4 separate regions of the Homo sapiens genome follow, and all the other regions are linked to region 1. The links are contacts of gene promoters, found by promoter capture Hi-C in blood cells and fetal thymus (Javierre and others, 2016). All regions are on one chromosome and are shown on one strand. The core of a region is centred on a gene start or on the middle of the fragment in contact, and the rest is flanking DNA. Distances in the headings are between cores, read along the strand shown. Region 1 holds the start of DOCK3 (dedicator of cytokinesis 3). Region 2 overlaps DOCK3 (dedicator of cytokinesis 3). Region 3 overlaps DOCK3 (dedicator of cytokinesis 3). Region 4 overlaps DOCK3 (dedicator of cytokinesis 3).

What was found. Contacts are between HindIII fragments. The CHiCAGO score rates a contact against its expected background, and 5 or more counts as called.
Region 2: a contact is called between a fragment that was not itself captured here and the fragment with the promoter of DOCK3 in region 1, in 1 of 17 cell types (M2 macrophages). The highest score is 6.7, in M2 macrophages.
Region 3: a contact is called between a fragment that was not itself captured here and the fragment with the promoter of DOCK3 in region 1, in 1 of 17 cell types (M2 macrophages). The highest score is 6.5, in M2 macrophages.
Region 4: a fragment that was not itself captured here is called in contact with the fragment with the promoter of DOCK3 in region 1 in 1 of 17 cell types (M2 macrophages); the score reaches 5.5 in M2 macrophages.

Annotation. Positions count from the first base shown.
Region 1 is chr3:50,673,263-50,676,662 of GRCh38, forward strand. It overlaps DOCK3 (dedicator of cytokinesis 3), which reads left to right and starts at 1,665. Exons shown (of 53, transcript NM_004947.5): 1 at 1,665-2,038. The coding sequence starts at 2,002. MIR4787 (microRNA 4787) reads left to right here and starts at 1,818; the gene lies at 1,818-1,901. RefSeq lists a silencer at 1,629-1,918. The HindIII fragment of the contact is 16,225 bases long and covers 1-3,400 here.
Region 2 is chr3:50,923,955-50,927,354 of GRCh38, forward strand. All of the region lies in intron 4 of DOCK3 (dedicator of cytokinesis 3), which reads left to right. Among named protein-coding and RNA genes, the nearest start is that of MIR4787, 250 kb to the left of the region's middle. RefSeq lists a silencer at 704-998. The HindIII fragment of the contact is 1,185 bases long and covers 1,310-2,494 here.
Region 3 is chr3:50,874,724-50,878,123 of GRCh38, forward strand. All of the region lies in intron 3 of DOCK3 (dedicator of cytokinesis 3), which reads left to right. It also overlaps the pseudogene ST13P14. Among named protein-coding and RNA genes, the nearest start is that of MIR4787, 200 kb to the left of the region's middle. The HindIII fragment of the contact is 626 bases long and covers 1,504-2,129 here.
Region 4 is chr3:50,845,031-50,848,430 of GRCh38, forward strand. The region is part of intron 3 of DOCK3 (dedicator of cytokinesis 3); the gene reads left to right. Among named protein-coding and RNA genes, the nearest start is that of MIR4787, 170 kb to the left of the region's middle. The HindIII fragment of the contact is 3,962 bases long and covers 1-3,400 here.

The sequences.
Region 1 (3,400 bases), core at 415-2,914:
CTGGGAACAAGAGTATAAACTTTGGAAAAACTGGCCCTTAGGCTCTGTGACTGTCATCACATACAGCAGACAAGGGAGTGAACTTAGAGGATGAAATAAGAGCTTTAAGGTTGTTCCCTGAAGGCCTGCGTAGCTCAGCCCCACTTGTTGAATAGCTACCTGGAGAGTTTTGTAAGAATGTGGCTTCATTCCATAGAATACTTCCATGGTGGCCACCGGGGAGGGGTCTATCTTCTTGGAACAGTTAGCTCTTTCGTTATGTTCTTGGACACCCCTGCTACCCCTAAAAAGAAGTGTACCTGGCTATTGAGAAATTCTATCATTCACAGAACAGACATTTTTCTGGGCGGGAGTGGGCAGCTATGATTAGTGAGAGGAGGAGCCTAAAGGTCCGAAGGTGGGAAGGGGTGGCCATAACCCAGGGGAGCACAGTCAGGCCTGGGAGGAGTTACCAATCATGACACTTTGAACGAAGAATCAACAAGATCTGTTGATTGCAAGATATTCTTCTATTAGTCTGGCTTCCCATGCAACAACTATACAACAGGTGCTGGGTTGGTGGTGAGGGTTTAGAAAGTTGATTTTAGCCTGGAGCTTGCCTTCTGGGAGCTGACAGTCTTATAAGGGAAATAAGACAAACCGAACATAGCTCCAATTCCAGACAAAGAAGGAAAGGAGACTATGGGTCAGGGCAGGCTTCCTGGAGGTGAGGGGCTGAGCTGGGCTTTGAAGAGTGGTGGTGTCTGAGAGTGCTAGTGAAGGATGACACCAGGGTTTTGACTTAGTAGTGCTAGTGACAGAGATGGGCAAATCTGCTGGGATTAGAGCATGTGGTCCAAATGTAGGTGGAAAGGAGAAGTCCTGCAGTTCCTGTTCTTTGGTAAGTGGTTGACTTGGGGGTCACAAGGTGACATTTACAGGCATCAGAATGAATGGATTCTTAGGGAGGAGAGAGAGGAGGAAAGTTTCCGGTAGGAGCCAGTTCTTAGGGCTCCAAGGGAGGCAGACACCCAGGAGCAGCAGATGCCGTGTCCTGGGTAGGAACACGAAGGGCCCAATGAAGCTCTTCCTTACTAGCAAGGCGGCTGTTGATTGTTCTGGCCCCAAACATTCACCACTCAGGCCATCTCAGAGAAGCAAGAACCCAGGAGGTGTCAGCGGCCTCAGCCCACAGGGGATCCAGGAGAGAGGGGCACGAGTGCACCCCACCTGGTTCCCTCGTGGCGACTCCATCCTGCGGGCCCTGGGAATGCACAGGGTGGCTCCGGGGACCTTTCCGACAGCACTGTGGGTGACACTGGGATGGGTCTGAAAATGGTGTCGTGTCCTCCTTTTCTGGATCTCCCCTCTCCGACCAGGAGGCCTGTGGCCATCTCGGGGCGCAGGCAGGAGGCACTGGAAGCGGAAGCGAGTGGGGAGTCCGGGTAGAGGGAGTCGCCCACCTGACCGGCTTCGCCCCCTCCGGGGTTTGCTGCAGCTGAGGGCCCCGGACCAGCGATTCTAGAAGCCGGTCCGGGGCCGGGCAGTCCAATAGCTTCTCGCGGATTTCCCTCCGCTGGCGCGCAGCAGCGGCGCGTGGATTCGCGCGCGGGCTCGGGACGGCGCGAGCCCGGGCAGCGCGAGCCCCTGCGCGGCAGGGAGTGGCGCATGCGCGGGCGTCCTGCGAGCCCGCTGGGGCGAGCCGAGCCGCGGCGGCGCCGGGAGCCGGGCGGCGGAGCTGTGAAGAAGCAAGCGGCGGCACGGGAGCAGCGGCGACGGACAGGTGGCGAGCCTTCGCCCGCGCCGCCAGGGGCTGCTGGGCCACCCGCGGAGCCTCGCGGTCCAGACGTGGCGGGGGTGGCGGCGGCATCCCGGACGGCCTGTGAGGGATGCGCCGCCCACTGCCCCGCGCCGCCTGACCGTCCCCGCCTCGACTCGCGGTGCGCCACAGCCGGGCCCGCGGCCGTCCCCGCCGCGTTGTCGCCCGGTCGCCGCGCCCGCGGGGCCGCGCCCGGCACGGCCATGTGGACCCCCACGGAGGAGGAGAAATACGGCGTAGGTAGGTGAGGCTCAGGCCTGGCCGTGGCGGGGGTTCTGGGGGACGCGCCCAGCTCCCGGCCCCGCCTGGATTCGCATCCTCGTGCCCCCGCCACTGCCCGCAGGCTGCGCGGCCTCGGCGCGGGGCGAGCGCGGGGTGGGGGCAGGTGCGGGTGCGGGTGCGGGTGCGGGGGTGGGCGCGGGTCTCTGTGCAGAGAGGGCGGCAGGGGGCGCTGGCGGTGCGGCCTTGGCAGGTGCGGCCCGCGGGAGGGGTGGGCAAGGCCCGGGCAGTTGCCCGAGGTTTCTGGTGTGGGCCACGGGGCAATTTTACCCGATAAACCAAATTCTGGGAATATGTTTTCTCCCCTCCAAAAGCTCGATTTTAATGAGTTTCCGCACCTGAATTGATGAGCCCGATGGCTGTTTATTTTTGATCTGGAACCTTACAAGAAAACGGATGAAAAACGTTGACATCATTTTCCCAGTTCAAAAATTTGGACATTTGACTGCAAATGTTTGATCTGTTTTAATTTGTTTTGCCTTTAGTATTAGAAATAATACCTTACGATGGGAAATGTTTTTGGACATGTATCAATGTTTATACGGTTTTTTTTTTAAACCCTGTTTTCAGATGAGACCTTATTCCTCTTAGAAACCTTTTTTTAATGTTGTAAGTGTTAAACTCCAGAAGCTAAATAATTCTTACAATATTCAACTTCTTTAAAAAGAATATTCAGTAATTTAAAGTATTGAATGTTTTACAATGTTAGTGTTTTGTGGCAATTACATGATAGAGTTAAGCCTCATTGCATCACCTATCATCTTGTTCAGTTAGAAACAGATTTAAAATGTTGAGTGTACAGGTTTTGTTTTTCCTAAGCTCGTAATGGAAAATTTTAGATAGGAAACCTGTCTAAACATAGATTTTTGTTTCCCATCTTTACCGCAATTTAATCAAGATTTAGTTCACAATTCACTACAAAATAACTTGAAACTGCAGTGGTAACGAATGTTTTGGAATGCTATCAGGCAGGTTATCGTGTGAAAATTGAATTTATTTAAATTCGAGGACCAGCAGAGAGGTCTTCTATTCTGGTAGAAGATCTTGTTTTAAAAGGTAACTTTCTGAAACAATTAGGTATGTTAGGATGGAGGTGATAAAGGGAGCTCTGGTCCTAGAGTCTCTATTGAGAAGGAATTGAGAAATGATGCGAAGAGCTGGGATTCACCTCTAGGGACATTTTACCCCTTCTCTTAGAGTATTCCCTGAATACTGAGTTGATTCTGTGAAGTGAGGAGTTGGTGGTTTATCTTCTCCATAACTCGCTCCCAGAACTGCTGAACTAGAATAACAAATAATTGATGTGAGTGGTCAACTCTCCAG
Region 2 (3,400 bases), core at 652-3,151, 250 kb after region 1:
GAAGACTTGTAAAAATCATGCCAACCAATGCCAAAACTGCTGCTGTTTTTGTTTGTTTGTTTGTTTGTTTGTTCAGTGGCAGGGGTAACCTGAACCTGAAATGGCCTCATGGGAATCTCAGCTTCAATATAATTGAATCATATTGTTATCTGTGTATGCATGTTTCCCTTGAATTCTAAATTAGCAGAGCCAGAGTCCTCAAAGATAGAAAGCAAAAAATTTGCAAGTGAGTCATTAGGTGTGAGAATGAGAAGTTGTCTTTTACATTTCTACTTCATGTTTCTGGACCCATGTATTGTGGTTATGGGAGAAACATAACTTTATATTAGTTACTGGTTCAGAATAATTGTCGCAATTTGTGGATTGCCCCATCATTAAAAAAGCTAGCATAACAAAGTCTTCTATAGTCTTGTCTATTGTTCTATACAGTCTGTTGCTCTGGATGATGAAGTAATTAGTAAGATCAGTTAATCTGTGAGTGTCAGCTCCTTATCTTCCTTCTTTGTGTTTAAAATGAGTTCCTTGCTCATATTCCAGTTTTATATGCAACAGTGTTATGGCAAATAGGGTATTGAATAGTCTACTGAAGGTTATGTTTCCAGAAATGAAGCAGCCAGGGAAAGTAAGTCCAAATCTCATCCTCTTTGTCATGAATGGGGTCAAAAGTATGAACTTGCCTGTAGGCAGTTGGCTAATCCACTTGGAATATGTGTACCACATCCAAGTCTCAGGGTTGCCCACTGCTACCGGTCAGTTCTGATTCAGCAGTTGTGGTGTCAGATCAGCCTTGGTGAGGGAAAGTTCATGGAGTTGAGCTCCTCTATAGCTGCTATTTCTTTCACAGCATTCTTTTCAGGATGGCTGGGAAAGTAAACAGATTGAATTTACAGGACACTGGGGACAATTATGCGGGTGGTGTATGGTCTAAGGAAAATGGGCTTCTCTTTGCAAGATAATTCACTCAGGTGATGTAGTCTCACAGCATGTAAGCAAGGCAAGGATACCCTCATCAGCCCAGAAGGAGGGACTTTTTCTGATGCCAAAAGGAGGTTTACTAGGGGTGGAGCTCAGACTTTCCTAAGTTATCCCATGTCTTTATTCTATCTCCATTCTGATTCACAGGTTACTGTTATTTTTATGTCACTACCCTGCCTTTTATCTTAATTTTAATGAAAAGGCCATGAATTCAACTGATCTTGTAATTCAGCAATCCTTAGGATCAAAACTTGAGTTTGATTTTTGGCTATATGAGTGATGAAGCTGAAAGAGAAAATGAACTCTTGCATGAGCATCAAAAAAGTGAGCATTAAGCTTTTTGCAGTCCTGGTTTCCTGATTAGATATTATTCTTGCAAGTAGTATTTTATGTATATCAGATTGTCTCATCCATCTGTCAAAGTCAAATAAATGACAAATCTCTAGACAAAGCATTTTATTTGGAAGGCCAGGCATATTGGCACATACCTGTAGTCTTGGGTCCTCGGGAGGCTGAGGCAGGAGGATTGCTTGAGCCAAGGAGTTTGAGGCCATAGTGCACTATGATCATGCCTGTGAATAGGCACTGCTCTCCAGACTGGGAAACATAGCAAGACTCTGCCTCCTTAAAAAAAAAAAGTTTTATTTAGGAAAGCAGAATGGCCATTCAGGGCATACACACAGACAGGGTAGTCTTCTTTGTGTCCGAAGAAGAAACAGAAGGTTGGGGTTTTATTAGAGAAATGTTACATATTGTTTTGAAAGAAAACTTACTAACACTAGTGAAGTTTTTGGGAGCTGGCAAGCTCTGATTGGTTGGGTGAGTGATGGCGGTAGGTAAAACTGTTCTTAAAGTCATGGCAGTTCATTTCAGCAGCTACTAGGTAAAACTAGTCTTTTTTTTTTTTTTTTTTTTTTTTGAGACAGAGTCTCACTCTGTCGCCCAGGCTGGAGTGCAAATGACACAATCTTGGCTTACTGCTACCTCTGCCTCCCGGGTTCAAGTGATTCTCCTGCCTCAGCCTCCTGAGTAGCTGGGATTACAAGGCACGCACCACCAAGCCTGGCTAACTTTTGTATTTTTAGTAGAGATAGGGTTTTACCATGTCGGCCAGGCTGGTATCAAACTCCTGACCTCAAGTGCTCCACCCACCTTGGCCTCCCAAAGTTATAGCAGGCCATTTTGGCAGCTGGCTTGTGATATAACCCTTGGACAGGTGCTTTGTGCCCGAGTGCTTCTCTCCTCCCCTGATGCAGTCTCTTGACATTAATTTAGTTGGGTATGCCAAGATAATTCCAATTCATGTAACCAATTTTTATATATCCATTCTACATCTGCTAGATTTGTTAACTCTTAGTTAAAGGGAGAATCAGTAGATCAACAGTACCTGGAAGATTTCTTGCTTTTGAGCATACAGGCCAAGGGTTTTTTAAAAAAGTTTGCCTATTAATTTGTTCATTCGTTTGTTCATCCATTTATTTAATTCATTCTATGACCTCATTCTTGGTCTATTTACCAAAGCTTTTCTCAAACTCAGTCTCATGCTTTTCTCTAGGATGGAGACAATATTAGACTGTGCTTCTAGTTATGCATATTTTATTTATAAGTGTTACAGGAACCTTGACATTATCATAACCAGAGAGGGTTAGAGATCTGGGGCTTCAGTTAGATGAAAGTGGGACTTGAAAGGGAATTAGCATGGGTGCCCACTATAGCAAGATGGTGAGAGTTGTTGAGAGTCAGCTGCTAAGGAACAGTAGGAAAGATGTGAGCACGTTATGGACTGTTGGGTGGAGTTGGTACAGCATTAGACAGCTGAGAAGAAGAAGGAGAAACTCAGTGTCCTAAATTGTCACATTATGTCATGGAATGAAAAACAAGTACATTCTGGGGTTATAGTTTCTTGCCTGTGTTACAGCACCACCTTCTAACTGGTCTCCCTGTTTCTATCCATGTTCCCTTGCAGTTTATAGTGCAACATAACTGCCAGAGTTGTTCTTTAAAAATATGTTAGATCATGTTACTCCTCTGCTTAAAACCTTCTAGCGACTCCCGTCTCACACAGAGCAAACATTGAAGTTCTTACAAAGGCTTACAAGTTTTATGATGTGACTTCCTGTCACCCTGTAACCTTCAGTGACACTGGTTTTCTTGCTTTTATTCAGTCATTTCAGGTATGCTCCTGCCTTGAGGCTTCTATTGTTTCTTATGCTTGGGATTAGCTTTGTCACTTCCTTCAGGCCTTTTCTGAAATCTTCTCAGTGAAACATACCTTGACTACAGTATTTATTTCTGCCTCCTTCCTTCCCCTCACTGACTTAAAACTGGATGCTCCCACAGGGCAGTGGGGAGTGGGGGATGAGGAGGGATTGGTTAGTGGGTACCGAAATACCGCTAGATAGAATAAGATCTAGTCGTTTGATAG
Region 3 (3,400 bases), core at 567-3,066, 200 kb after region 1:
ATTGCCTTTTTGATTTTTCACTGGTAGTATATGTAAATGCTACTGATTTTTGTATGTTGAGGTTGTATGCTGCAACTTTACTGAATACGTTTTTCAGTTCTAAGCTTTTTTGTGGTGGAGTCTTTAGGTTTCTCTAAATATAAGATCATTGTGGCCATAAAAAAGAATGAGTTCATGGGCTTTGCAGGCACACGGATGAAGCTGGAAGCCATCATTCTTAGCAAACTAACACAGAAACAGAAAACCAAACACCACACGTTCTCACTCATAAGTGGGAGTTGAACAATGAGAACACATGGACACAGGGAGGGGAACGTCACACACCGGAGTTGTGGGGGAGGGGTGGGAGAGCATTAAGACAAATACCTAAAGCATGCGGGGCTTCAAACCTAGATGACGAGTTGATAGGTGCAGCAAACCACCATGGCACATGTATGCCTATGTAACAAACCTGCACGTTCTGCACATGTATCCCAGAACTTAAAGTAAAATTAAAAAAAAAATTATGTTGTCTGCAAACAAGGATAATTTGGCTTTTAAAATTCCAGTTTGGGTACCCTTTCACTTGTTTCTCTTGCCTGTTTGTGCTGGCTAAGACTTGTAGTACTATGTTAAATAAAAGTGGTGGAAGTCTTATCTTTGTCTTGTTTGAGATCTCTTTGGAAAGACTTTCAATTTTTCCCTGTTCCTTCAGTATGATATTAGCTATGGGTTTGTTATATGTGGCCATTATTGTGTTCAGGTAAATTCCTTCCATACCCAGTTTGTTTAGAGGTTTTATCATGAAGGAATTTTGAACTTTATCAAATGCTTTTTCAGCACCCATTGAAATGATGATATGGGTTTTGTCTCTGATTTTGTTGATGTGATATATCATGTTTATTGATTTTCACATGTTCAACCATCCTTGATTCCCTGGGATGAATCCCACTTGATCACGATGAATGATGTTTTTGATATGTTGTTGAATTTGAGTATTTAATATTTTGTAGAAGATTTTTGCATTTATATTCATCAGGATTATCGGCCTATAGTTTTCTTGTTTGTTGTGTCCCTGTCTGATTTTGGTATCAGAGCAGTGCTTGCCTCATAGAATGAAGTTGCAATCATCTCTTCCTCTTTAATTTTTGAATTAAAAAAAAAAAAACAACTGTTGTGTTTTGAGAGTCTTCGCCTGTTCGCTGTTGAGATAATATGAAACATTTTCATGATATATTGAACAAGAACAGAGCTGAATAATCCAGCTCTACTGGAGCATTAAAAAAAATTCTTTACCATCGTGTAAGGTTTAAATGCAACTGACAAGAGGGTGCATGCTATGTAAAACATAATAAGATTACTGCTGCTATACCAAGTATTTCCAGTCTGTTTCTGAGAAACAGAACCTGTTCCTCAGGTTCTGTTGAAATACTGGAATATCAATATTTTTATCAGAATTATTCATGTTAAAAAACCATTTAAAAAGAGAAATCAAAATTCCTCAGTAGTCATGTATTCAACTCAAGCTTTATCTACTTAAATTAGTTTTATTTGCCTCCCATTTGTAAACCTGTGTTTCACTAAAACCAGAGCAATAAATCTTCCATACTTAAGTATCTTTCTTGCCTAATAAAGGAAAAATACAAAATGATTATTAAAGAAAAATATATGAACTAACAAATCCTTTTGTTTTAAATATTTTAAGGTTTAAAATATTTAGTATTTTATTCAGTATAAATATTTAGTGAATAAATATTTAGTATTTTATTATAGTTTGTAATTTCTAGCAGGAACACATGATTTGAATGAATATCCTAATGGCAAACCACAGTAAAATATTCAGCTGCATTTGGGGAAGAGGGGTAGAGATGATCTTGAAAGCCTTCTAGTTGTCTTGATCAGAGGTACACCGGTTTGTATTATTGTAACATTTATTAGGTGATCTAGTTTGCTTTTCCTTCACCTAGGGCCTTTTACTTGTCCAAAGGACATTTTCCTTCACTTTAAAAATTTGGCTGACAATTTACTGATGAGATTCATAATTTTTTTGGTTACTCTGGTGTTTTGACATATTTGCTGTGTTCTGGGCCACATCCTAGAAGATCACTGTAACTTCTGTTTCCTGCATGGCTGCAAGAACCTCTAGGTCAAGCTTGTCCAACTCATGGGCCATATGCAGCCCAGAACAGTTTTGAATGTGGCCCAACACAAATTTGTAAATTTTCTTAAAACATTATGAGATTTTTTGCAATTTTTTTAAAAAGCCCATCAGCTCTCGTTAGTGTTACTGTATTTTATGTGTGGCCCAAGACAATTCTTCTTTGAGTGTGGTCCAGGGAAGCCAAAAGATTGAACACTCCTGCTCTAAATCACTAAGAATTTCATTGCATCCAGGCATTTCTGCCATTCTAGGCATTGCTCCAGGAAAATTACCAGGCATTCCCCCTGGGAAAGCCACCTGGAAAAGAGCCATACTGAGCTCCTGAATGTCATCTGGCTTCTTTCTCCCTCTGAGCTCTCTCATGATCTTACGGAGCCTTCTTAACCCTTTTTATTCTTTCTTTGATTTCTTACTCTTGATATTTCTATTCAACCTTTTTCTAATGTTGTGCAATTTTCTTGGCCCTCAGTTGAACTTCTTTCAGCATTGTACTAGTATCTTCATCATAATCCAGTTATGGTCAGGGTCAAGATTATAGCTGCTTCTTTCCAATGGCCCAGAAATCTGTGTGCTTTCCCTCACCACTTATAAGGCTGAGCCAAATCAGAATTTATTTCATTTGTTCTGTCAGTCTCGAATGGCAGTGTTTGGCTTCTGTAATGTGATGAAGATACTGACTGTGTTGACATACAGAATGGTCAAGCGAGGATTCAGCTTGATGGCATCTCTGAACAAGACAGTGGCTTTCTGTAGTGCACCATTATCTAGGGCTTCAATGGCAGCCACTTTTTCTTTTCTTTTCTTTTCTTTTCTTTTCTTTTTCTTTTTTATGTTGGAGTCTCGCTGTGTCACCAGGCTGGAGTGCAGTGGCGTGATCTCAGCTCACTGCAACCTCCGCCTCCTGGGTTCAAGCAATTCTCCTGCCTCAGCCTCCTGAGTAGCTGGGATTACAGGCCTGCACCACCACGCCTGGCTAACTGGGAGTAACCTAACTGGGAGACATCTCCCAATAGAGGCTGACTGACACCAAATACAGCCAGGTGCCCCTCTGAGACGAAGCTTCCAGAGGAAGGATCAGGCAGCAACATTTGCCGTTCTGCAATATTTGCTGTTCTGCAGCCTCCGCTGGTGATACCCAGGCAAACAGTGTCTGGAGTGGACCTCCAGCAAACTCCAACAGACCTGCAGCTGAAGGTCCTGACTGTTAGAAGGAAAACTAACAAACAGAAAGGACATCCACACCAAAACCCCATCTGTACG
Region 4 (3,400 bases), core at 287-2,786, 170 kb after region 1:
TGGCCAACATGGAGAAATGCTCTCTCTACTAAAAGTACAAAAATTAGCCTGGCTTGGTGGTGCACTCCTGTGATCCTGGCTACTCGGGAGGCTGAGGCAGGAGAATCGCTTGAACTCGGGAGATGGGGGTTGCAGTGAGCCGAGATCTCGTGGACAACAAAGGGAGACTCTGTCTCAAAAAAAACCAACCAAACAAAAAAACTTAAGAGCATACATGAAGAATTAAAGAATAAGACATAAAATTGAGAAAAAAGGACAACAGATACTTGATTTTATTTTTGTGCTTTTTATAAAATATATGCTCAAGAGGAATAATGAAATTCAGTACAGTTTATATTTACTTCCATTTTGTGATTTCAGGATCAGCTTTTATCAATAATTGTGAACAGAATGCGTAGTATTCTGTGAGATAGGAACAGGGCCTTATGGAATGTTTTGCACAGCAAAAAATTGCAAGACATATTCATGGAATAGTAAATATTTTAAGCTGGGTAAGGCATAGTGCAGGAGAGAGTGATGGATGGTAAGGCAGGAAAGGCAGATTGGACCTATATATTTAGAGTCATACGCCAAAGAAATCTAAGGAATTTACACTTTGGCAACAGGGAATCTGTCATTCAACAGAGATGTGGACCCATTACTGTCATACAGTATAACTATAAAATAGGGTTTATCAGGAAAACAAAAGGTAAATATTGAAGATATTTACTGTCAAGAGAATCGCTTGAACTTGGGAGGCAGAGGTTCAAGCGATTGAACCTCCTTGAATATTTAAGGTAAATATTGAAGTATTTGTGGATAATTTCTGAAATTTTCTCTAAAAATACTATAATGGGTAAAATGTATGTAGATTGATGAGTCAAGATTGGCAAAATGTTGATAATTGTTGAAGCTGAGTGATGGATTTGTGGAGATTCATTATACTGTTGTCTAATTTTGTCTGTATTTGAAATGGGTTATTACTTATCTCATGGAATTGTAATGAGGAATCAATGAGTTGATATGAAACCGTTATTGCAGTGCCTAGCACATAAGAACGTGATAATTCTTTTGCACTATCGTCTTTTACTATTAAAGAATAGCACTGCAAATGAGACTGTAAAGACTGCCAACACTTTGGAGGACAGAGAAAGAGGAACTGGCAAAAAAAGACTAATGGAGGTCATAGTTGGCCAAGGAGAACATTTTTTAAAAACAGGGGTAATTAATGGTTTCAGGTACTGTGGAGTAGAATGAGTACTGAATAGGGGCATATAGTTGTACTCACAGTTATGAATTATTACAGTGAAAAAATAGAAAGAAAAACCAGCAAAGGGGAAAAGGTGTTGGGGCAACAGTCTGTGATGAATTATCTTTTGATGTGCTGCTGGATTCAGGTTACTAGTATTTTGTTGAGGATTTTGGTCTGCGTTCAGGGATATCGGCCTATAGTTTTCTCTTTTTGTTGTGTCTTTGTAAGATTTTGGTGCTAGGATGATATTGGTTTAGTAGAATGAGTTAAGGAAGGGTCCCTCTTCCTTGATGTTTTGGAATAGTTTCAGTAAGATTGGTGGCAGCTCTTCTTTGTACATCTAATAGAGTTTGGCTGTGAATCTGTCTGGTCCAGGACTTGCTTTGGTTGATAGGTTTTTTATTACTGATTCAATTTTTGAACTTGATATTGGTCTGTTCAGGGTTTCAGTTTCTTCCTGATTCAATCTTGGGATCTTGTGTGTTTTCAGGAATTTATCCATTTCCTCTAGATTTTCTAGTTTCCAATTTGCTGTAGATCTTCTACGTGTTCCTAATGGTGTTTGAGGATCTTTCGTATTTGTGTGGGATTGGCTATAATGTCACCTTTGTCATTTCTGATTGTACATATTTGGATCTTTTCTCTTTTTTCTTTCTTAATCTACCTAGCAGTCCATCAATCTTGTTGATTCTTTGTGTGGATTTTGGGTTCTCAATTTTGTTCAGTTCTGCTCTGATTTTAGTTATTTGTTTTCTTCTGCTATCTTTGGGGTTACTTTGTTCTTGTTTTTTCTAGTTCCTTCAGGTGTAATTGCTATTTTTTTTTCTAACTTTTTGAGGTAGGTGTTTAGCATTATAAACTTGCCTATTAACTCTGCTTTTGCTTCATACCAGAGGTTTTGGTATGTTGTGTCTGTTCTCATTTATTTTAAAGAGTTTTTTGATTTCTGCCTTAATTTTGTTGTTTACCCAACATTCATTCAGGAGCAAGTTTTTAAATTTCCATGTAATTATGTGGTTTTGAGCAATCTTCTTGGTATTCATTCCTGTTTTTATTCCATTGTGACCTGAGAGTATAGTTGGTATGACTTCCATTTTTTTGAATTTATTGAAACTTGCTTTATGGTTGAGCATGTGGTCAATCTTGGAATATGTTCTGATTCCATTCTCTTCTGTAGATGAGAAAAATCTGAGAATGTCCCGTGGTTGATGGGTGGAGTATTCTGTACATGTCTGTTAGGTCTGACTAGTCAAGTGTTGAGTTTAAATCCAGATGTTATTTGTTAGTTTTCTGTCTCAGTGATCTAATGCTGTCAGTGGGATATTGAAATCCCCCACTATGGCCAAGTGCAGTGGCTTATGTCTGTAATTCTAGCACTTTGGGAGGCTGAGGTGGGCAGATCATTTGTGGCCAGGAGTTCAAGACTAGCCTGGACAACATGGTAAAACCCCATCTCTAGTAAAAACACAAAAATCAGCCGGGCATGGTAGTGTATACCTGTAGTCCCAATTACTCAGGAGGCTGAGGCAGGAGAATTGCTTGAACCCAGAGGCAGAGGTTGCAGTGAGCCGAGATTGTGCCACTGCACTCCAGCCTGGGTGACAGAACGAGGCTCCATTTCAAAAAAAAAAAAAAAAAAAAATCCCCCACAGTTATTGTGAGGTTGTCTAAGTCTTTTCGTAGGTCTAGAGGTACTTATTTTAGGAATCTGTGTGTTCCATTGTTGGGTGCCTATGTATTTAGGATAGTTAAGTCTTGTTGAATTCAACTCTTCATCATTATATCACGCTCTTCTTTGTCCTTTTTTTATTGTTGTTGGTTTAAAGTCTCTTTTATCTGATATAAGAATAGTAACCCCTGATCTTTTTTGTTTTTTATTTGCATAGTAGATCTGTCTTCAGCCCTTTACCTTGAGCCTATGGGTGTTGTCACATCTGAGATGGATCTCCTGAAGATGGCAGACAGATGGGTCTTTTTGTTGTTGTTGTTCAACTTGCTACTCTTTGCCTTTTAGGTTGAGTGTTTAGACTATTTACATTCAACATTAATACTGATATGCGATGTTTTGATCCTATCGTGAAGTTGTTAGCTGGCTGCTTTTTAGTTTCTAATGTGTAGTTGCTTTATAGGCTATATACTTAAGTGTGGTTGTGTGACAGCAGGTATCGC